3 separate regions of the Homo sapiens genome follow, and all the other regions are linked to region 3. Evidence: promoter capture Hi-C in human tissues and cell types (Jung and others, 2019). All regions are on one chromosome and are shown on one strand. The core of a region is centred on a gene start or on the middle of the fragment in contact, and the rest is flanking DNA. Distances in the headings are between cores, read along the strand shown. Region 1 overlaps MVB12B (multivesicular body subunit 12B). Region 2 overlaps MVB12B (multivesicular body subunit 12B). Region 3 holds the start of RABEPK (Rab9 effector protein with kelch motifs).

Region 1 (2,700 bases), core at 153-2,652, 1.2 Mb before region 3:
CCGTGCTTTAATTGGAAAGCTTCATTGCATTTTCCAATTATTTGGAGTAAATTAAAAGCAGATGCACATAGTTTAATAAGGAGTCTAATATCAGTTCCGGGAAATCAAAATTCATTGTCATTACTATGCCGTGATAGTTTTGCAAACTGTACTCAATTTCAGAGGTTTTCAAAAGAAAATCTGTCTATGCAATCTGTTAATTGTCATTCGGTTAATAACTGTTTAAATATCCGAACTACATAGCAGCTTCCTATTAAAAAAAATTAAACTATGGAGTTTACGCAAGCAAACAAATACAGCATGCCACTCCTGGGCTGGGCTGGACTTTTCAGACTTGCCTGTTCACCCTAAAACAATGGGAAGGCTCGAGAAACCCACCCACACGGCAGCTCAGCTCCAGAGCTGGAGGACAAAGAACAGCAATTTTGTACTTCTGCAAGCACCAGAGGTTACAGTACCATAAGACAGCTCTCTGTGGAAGGGCAGAAGCCATGTTATAAATTGTGTTTTCAGAGGTCTGCTCTGCTCAGCAAAAAATTAGCTTCCAAAGTTTTAATTGGTCCACCTAAAATAAATTCTTTTAATGAGTAAATTAACTGATTCAGGACACAAACATGGAAAAAATTAAAGAAAGCAAATGTTGTGAGCAATTCGCTTTTAAAAAATTGACCCAGGAAGGGCCATTCCCTTACTAGTTCATGACTCATGAGTGGAGTGCCCCTTAGGCTCTGCAGGGGCCAGCCACTGTGCCCACAAGTGGACTGGACTGCCAGACAAAGGACTATATGCTGAGCCACTACGGATTTAAGGAACCAGACCTTAAAGGTTACTCTTCATAAGGAATCTTGCTCACAGATGTAGTTACAGCTCCACAGCTGCAAGTTGCATACATACACATACATGTAGCTAAAGCATTTACAAATGAAAAGTCATAGGTATACTCAAACTAGTACACGTAACCTTTTCACTTTTATACTAAGTGGCAGACTTTTTCAAATCCTGTGTGTGTAAATTATAATAGGACAAGCAGTAATTGACTTTGAAACTCCACCCACTGCGAGGGCTACAATTAATCTGTTTTTAGCATAAGAACTGCTGCTCTGCAAAGTTCATAACTTGTAGGTTCTTTTTCCCAATCCAATTAAAACCTAAGAGTGTTCCTAAAAGGCGGCTGCACAGAATTTACTCTTCAGCTCCCGTTTCAAAGGGCGTATCTGCTAACATCCCAATCATCAAAGGGCAAGCCCCTCCAGACCAGAAAGGACCCCAAATGCCCGAACACGAGAGAGCCTCCTGGCAAAATAACCAGAAACTATGCTCAAAGATGAAGATAAAAGCAATTCTTGTGCAGTGATCCAAAAAACAGCATCTCTTTTTTTCCCCAAAATTACCTGTTTTAATAAAGTAGACATACTGTGCCAACTGAACCATTTAATTATCTGCAAAAATGATGAATCAAAACAATAGTTTGCAAAAATAAATGACTAACCTCTGATTAAAATGTCTGTCCTCATTAAATCCAAAGAAAAGGTATGATCTCTTTTTAAAAAATGTAGCCTGAAGAAACAAGCAGTCCCCCCGCATCTACAGCCGTACCCTTCACAGTGGCAGTGACCTGCCATGAGACGGGACATCTGAGGATGTTGTCTAATCTACTCTCTCCAACCCTGAGAAAAGACGGTGTGCCCCTGTGGCCTTCGAGCCTCTGGGTGCCGCCGGCCTGGCAGCAAGTGAGCTCAGGGACAGGGGACTTCCAGATGATGTGCTCGGTGGGTGGTGTGATTCTGGAGCAAGGAAAGAAACTTTTTTTTTTTTTTTTTGGCTAAAATAAGAGGTTCTGGGAGGGGAGTGGTTGGAAAGGAAGGAGCCAAGGCCAAAGAGAAAGAAAAAGAAAGGCAAAGAAGGAAAATCATTTAAAGGGTTGAGTGCCGATATGATCCCTTCTCAAACCAGAGCTGACTTGATGAAAAGGAACATGGAAAATTGAGGCTGATTTAAATGTTGAGAAGTTCTCTCTTTAAAATCATTTTACCCAGTAGCAAGCTAACATCTCCAGCAATTACACATTTCTGAACTAGAAGGGAGGGTTTGCCTTCTATTATGCCAAAAGTTTCCCTGAGCCATGCCAGGTCCCACCATTCATGAGCTCCCTCTGTCAGCTGCACCCTCTCCATCCCCGGCTGGACTTTTAGGTGAGGTCACACTGCAGGGTGAATGAGACCAGTGCCTTCTGGTATAATAAGCAGCAATTCCCTGGAATAACAATATTTACGGCAGTTATAGCAGCTCCACTTCTGGAGTGCCCTCTTGGTACTAGGCACTGGGTATTTCATGTACATTATCTTTAATCCTCAAATTCAGAAGAGAAAATATAATTCAAAATTACAAAAAAAAAAAGAAAACAGACTGCAATGTTATATAAACTGTCTAAAGTAATGTAGCTGGAAAGGGTGGATACAAAAGGGTGAACCAGTTCTAAGACCCAGGTCCTCTCAGAATCAACGAAACATTGAGTGTCATGGAACATCCCCTGTATGCTAGGCCCTGGGCTGGGCATTGGGCATCAGGCACACACCAGTGAAGGAGACATCATCTTGCCCTCCAGAATGAACCCTGAACTCCACATGATGACCAGAGATGGATCTCCTTTCTTAGAACTCGGAAACCAAGCAAATGGCCAGAGTTTTACAAGAAGCATAA
Region 2 (2,700 bases), core at 81-2,580, 1.2 Mb before region 3:
AACCCATGGTGGGGCCCTTCTGAGCACAGGGCTTTGTGTGTGTGACTAAAAGGATCCAGGGTAGGTGCTATAACTGCACTCACTATACCAATGAGGGAATTTCCAGGAGCCAGGGAAGTATTTTGCTTCATGGCTGCCAGACTAAGATTTCTAAGCCTCCAAAGCCCTAAAAAGGTGCACGCAACCTAACTAAGGATGCAGAGCGATTTGTGCAGTGCGGTAAACACTCCAGGAGCTAGAAGCATTCAGGGAGGCTCACAGAGGAGGCAGGAGCATTAGCAGAACTTTGGGAGCCAGGTGGACATGGATGATGGCAAAGAGGCCAGCCAGGAGGCAGAGGAGAAAATGGGGCCAGCCGAGCTGTTGGGTGGTCAAATATGCATCAATACAGATCTGTGGGGGACTCAGTGGTGGCAGGACAGGCAGGGGGACACGAAAATATCCATAAAGTTACCTGAACACTTGCTTACAAGTGTGATCATTTCCTATGGAAGGCGGGAAGACTCAAGTGCTAGGAAGGGCAGGGTAGGAGAAGGCTCCCTGGAAGGCTTCCTGGAGGAAGGTACATTGAGGTGGGAACTGAAGATAGGCAGAAATCAGAGAGATGCAGCAGGGAGGAGGGGTGAGCACTCGAGGCTCCGTGGGGAGTCTGACCTCCTCCAGACTTAGGAGGAAGCCAGGGTGGCCATGCCTAGAAGGCCAGGAAGACGGTGGGGCCAGGCCACGTGGAGCCCAGCATGGGTTCTGCCTTTCTCTGGAATGATTTTTAAGCAGAAATGTGCCAACATCCAATTTACAATTTCAAAAGCTTGCCCGTCTGTGGGAGAGTGAGGAAATAAAACTAAGGCGCCAATGTGGATGGGAATGGTAGCAGGAAATGATCATGAGCCTACAATTATTCACTATCTACTTTGTGCAGAGACTTCATTCCTGTCGACATGACTTGCCACAGACCCTCTAAATGGATAGTTTTGGGGAAATTTAGGACTTAAAAGAAATATATGAGCAATAACAACCACAAAAAAGTATATGAACAACAGAGAAATCAAGGGGCCCAGCTCTTCAGCTGCTCCATGCAATACTGATGTCCGGGACCAAACTTTCTTGTCCCTCGGGGCCTCAGATTTTGCCTGGCTTGCTCTGCAACTCAACCCCCGCCCCAGGTTCTCTTCCCTCGTTGGAGATGATTCTTTCTGCCCACCACCCCCCACCCCGCCAACTCCCACTTCGTCTCCAAACTTTGCAAGGTTGCTGTTTGCAAGGGTGCTGGCTTAGCTGTCTTCTCACTCTGTACACTTACACATCCCCGGCACACCAGCCCACCTTCCAGATTCTGCCTCTTGCCACTACTTACTTCCCCTCTCCTCCAGAAAGAGTGGAAGTCTTGTTAATCTCTGAACAGGCCTTGTTTTTCTCATGCCTAGGCCTGATTCTTTATCCATGCCACTCCCTCTTCCTAGGAATCTCCATTCTTCCTTACCGACTCTCCAAACTCCTATTCATACTTCAAGATCCCACCCAACCATGCCCTCTTTGGAAAAACCTTTCCTGGGCTTGCCCCAGACTGGATTGGATGCCTGAGTGTCTTCTCTCACCCCACTCCAGGTATCACAGTACACTTTGGTCATCTGATATAAACCTGTTCCCTAATGTGATTGTGACCTCCTCAAGAGCAGGGCCAAATATCATCAATTTTGTACTTCATTTTCTGGGACAATTTTTTGTCACAGGGTAGACAATTACTGACCATTTGTTGACCAAATCAAGTGTTGTAGTTGGCTCACTAAAACTCCTGGGTTTCTTTTTTGACATGAACTGCTGTTAGTCTCTATCATTTCATTTCTCCCTGTGTGTATTTTCCCAATTAATTAGGCTCCAGGGGTCTCTGTTTTATACCCTGAATCTCACCTCTCTCCATTATGGAGGAAACCAGGTATGGGTAAGAAGAAATCAGCAGCAGCAGCAACCAGGAATTTACAAGAAGGGAAAAAAAAGAAGGTTTCTGTTCATATATGATAGACAATGTGTGCCTGATGCAGCAAATGTGAAATTAAAAGAGGATTCAAGTCACAGGCTGACTGTATTTTCTGCAGAATAACTGCTCAGTAGGGATCTGCTGAATTGAAATCAGGTTACTGAATACTCCAGCTAAAGTAGCTGATGCAAGAGTGGGTAAGGGACAGCAGTCAGAGAGCAGCAGGTGAGAAGGCCCCCTGGGCAGAGAAAGCTTTAGGGAGAAGGGCTCCTCCCTACATGGCAAATAGCTTCCCCTGCATTTCTGCTTCCACTACTCCTGGACACAGGAAGCAGGGGACATGGGGACAGGACAGAAAGGCACATCAAGGCTTCCCATTAATGAGAATGAACAGTTTGGGCCCCAGGGACAGATTACCTGTGGTTAAACAGGACAAGTCACCTGCCGAAGGAGAAGTGGCCCAGGAGTGCTTTGGTGTCAGATTAGCCTGAAAGTGAGAGACAAGGATGAAGGCTCTGCCATCAGCTGGGTCTCTGGCGAGATGAGATTCCAGTTCCCCAGCGTGGGATGGAGCCCCACCTGCCAGGACCTGGGCTGGGGGTCCTCAATATATCACCCGGCCTCATCACCTCAACAACCTTTTTAGGTAGGAGTAATTATTCTCATTTAACAGAATAGGAAACTGAGGCTCTGAGAGGTAAAGCTGATGAAGGGAAAGCTAGGTA
Region 3 (2,700 bases), core at 171-2,670:
AGCCACTGAGCCCGGCCATTTATTTATTTTTTAATTAAAAATAGAAACGGGGCTGGGAGCAGTGGCTCACGCCTGTAATCCCAGCACTTTGGGAGGCCGAGGCAGGCGGATCATGAGGTCAGATCGATACCATCCTGGCCAACATGGTGAAACCCTGTCTTTACTAAAAATACAAAAAAAATTAGCTGGGCGTTGTGGCCCACGCCTGTAGTCCCAGCTACTCAGGAGGCTGAGGCGTGAGAATTGCTTGAACCCAAGAGGCGGAGGTTGCAGTGAGCCGAAATTGCGCCACTTGCACTCCAGCCTGGCGACAGAGCAAGACTCCTCCTCAAAAAAAGAAAAAAAAATAGAAATGGAGGTTTCGCTTTGTTGTCCAGGCTGGTCTCGAACTCCTAGCCTCAGGCAATTCTTCCACCTCAGCCTCCTAAAAAGCTGGGATTACAGGTGTGAGCCACTGCTCTCCGCTCAAAGGACAAAATATTTAAAGAAGCTGAGAAATACTGAGCTCTGGGATAAATCTTGGCCTCAACATAGCATAGAAAGTAAGGCCTTCTGCTGTTGAGCTTTTTTCCCGTGAACTCACCTCCACAATCTCTTGCATTATTGGTTTTTTTGCTGTTCTTGTAATATGGCAGGCCTTTTCATAATTTTGCAGCCTGTTCTGCTTCCCCTATTTGGAATGTCGCTTCCCTTCTGGGAAATTTGCAAACTCCTAGTTAACCTTCAAAGCCCAGTTCAAAAGTCCCTTCCCTGGTGAAACCTTCCCTGATTTGCCCTTTTCTCTTCCACCCACATCCAAGTTACTTCCTTCTTCCACCCACTGGGCTCTGAAGGTATTAGCCATCACCATTGCAGGAATCATTTGGAATGTTTATCTATTTAAGGCTTCTAGACTAGATTCTAGATTAAATTCCACTAGACTAAGTTCCTAGAGGGCTGGGCCTGTCAGATCCATTCCGAGAACCTACCAATGGACCTGGCATGGAGTAGAAGTGGGGGAGTGGCTAGTGAATGAAGAAAGAAAATAGATTGAGAGATGAATGGATAAATCTCACCTGCGGCCTAGGCCACTGACAGCTGTCCCCAAAGTCCAGAGCTCAGTTAGGCTGGCTTCACGTGGGCGGGACCTCCCGCAGCAGCCGCCGCTACCAGCCCAGCAAATCTCATCCCCACGTGGCAGTTCTAGGGGATAGGAGACGGGGTCGGGAAAGAACAGGCTGATTCGGTCAAAGTGGCCGGGACGGAGCCAGGGAAGGCCCTTCCCCGTTCTTTGCACCCGGCTTGGGCCCACTCCCCTAAAAGATTCAGACTCCCTGCCCGAGACCGTGATAGACCCGGTATCCGGGGACCCTCGCCCCTACCCTCCAGCCCCGGACTGCAATACCTGCGGCGACTTAGGCCAGTCGCGAGCCGTGACTCCACCCCGGAGGGGCGGGGCTTAGGTCCGGGCCCTCCTCCCAGGACCCGGAAGAGCGTCCGGGCCAACCGCTCCCTCTTCCCTGCTCCGCCCCGAGGGCCCGGCGCTGACTTCCTGGGCTGGCGGTGGAGGGGTCCCCCAGACCGGGAGTGGACGCCAGGCTCTGCATTTCTCGGGAACCAAGTGGGGTGGGCCTTCCCTGGGTCCCTCCCTCCCGGACGGGATAAATAAGCCGGGGCTACTTGGAAACGATTTGCGCAATGCCGGGTTCGGGCGTCCGTTTGGGGAACTCAGATGCCTGCGGCAGCTGATCTACTCTGTAAGGGGCTAACAGGGCTGGGCGCCACCACACTCCAGCTTGGGCAACAGCGCAAAAACTCCCTCTCAAAAAAATAAATAAATAAAAGGGGGGGAGGGTATAACAGTTACATTTCCAGTTACAACGATTGTTTTTTTTTTTTTTTTTTGAGACGGAGTCTCGCTCTGTCGCCCAGGCGGGACTGCGGACTGCAGTGGCGCAATCTCGGCTCACTGCAAGCTCCGCTTCCCGGGTTCACGCCATTCTCCTGCCTCAGCCTCCCGAGTAGCTGGGACTACAGGCGCCCGCCACCGCGCCCGGCTAATTTTTTTTGTATTTTTAGTAGAGACGGGGTTTCACCTTGTTAGCCAGGATGGTCTCGATCTCCTGACCTCATGATCCACCCGCCTCGGCCTCCCAAAGTGCTGGGATTACAGGCGTGAGCCACCGCGCCCGGCCACAACGATTGTTAACAGTTTCTAAAGGGGAGAGTTGAGCATGCAATCCTCCTGCGCAGTCTTCGGGCCAGCTCAAGATTTGGTGCTTTAAACAGCTGATTCATTCCATAATTGCCATTTGTAATTATGGCAGGTGCTATGCTGAGCCAGACACCACCACGCTTTGCCTCCAGGAGCAAGTCTTAACTAGAGAGAGATCAAAGAAAAAGACAACTAGGGACGACTGCCAAGAGTGCAATAAATATAAAGTTCAGCCAGGAGAGTATCTGTTCTGAAGTTACTTTCCTCCAGGCCTCAGGGTTGTCTGTTTGTAACCATGGAGCTAATAAGATTTCTATCATAGGCTGGGCGCGGTGGCTCACGCCTATAAGTCCAGCACTTTGGGAGGCCGAGGCGGGCGGATCACGAGGTCAGGAGTTCGAGACCAGCCTGGCCTACATGGTGAACGCCCCCGCCCCCCCCCCCAACTAAAAACACAAAAATTAGCTAGGCGTGGTGGTGGGCGCCTGTAATCCCTGCTACTCAGG

What was found. Contacts are between HindIII fragments. The study calls those that stand out against the background at their distance.
Region 1: a fragment that was not itself captured here is called in contact with the fragment with the promoter of RABEPK in region 3 in 1 of the 25 tissues and cell types used here (dorsolateral prefrontal cortex).
Region 2: a contact is called between a fragment that was not itself captured here and the fragment with the promoter of RABEPK in region 3, in 1 of the 25 tissues and cell types used here (hippocampus).

The regions. Positions count from the first base shown.
Region 1 is chr9:126,434,779-126,437,478 of GRCh38, reverse strand. The region is part of intron 7 of MVB12B (multivesicular body subunit 12B); the gene reads right to left. Among named protein-coding and RNA genes, the nearest start is that of NRON, 26 kb to the right of the region's middle. RefSeq lists an enhancer at 1-1,358. The HindIII fragment of the contact is 5,330 bases long and covers 1-2,700 here.
Region 2 is chr9:126,416,679-126,419,378 of GRCh38, reverse strand. All of the region lies in intron 6 of MVB12B (multivesicular body subunit 12B), which reads right to left. Among named protein-coding and RNA genes, the nearest start is that of NRON, 7.5 kb to the right of the region's middle. The HindIII fragment of the contact is 5,681 bases long and covers 1-2,700 here.
Region 3 is chr9:125,199,262-125,201,961 of GRCh38, reverse strand. RABEPK (Rab9 effector protein with kelch motifs) reads right to left here and starts at 1,420. Exons shown (of 8, transcript NM_005833.4): 1 at 1,056-1,420. It overlaps LOC105376271 (a long non-coding RNA gene), which reads left to right and starts at 1,566. Exons shown (of 2, transcript NR_135145.1): 1 at 1,566-1,736; 2 at 2,307-2,429. RefSeq lists a silencer at 1,493-1,542. The HindIII fragment of the contact is 10,811 bases long and covers 1-2,700 here.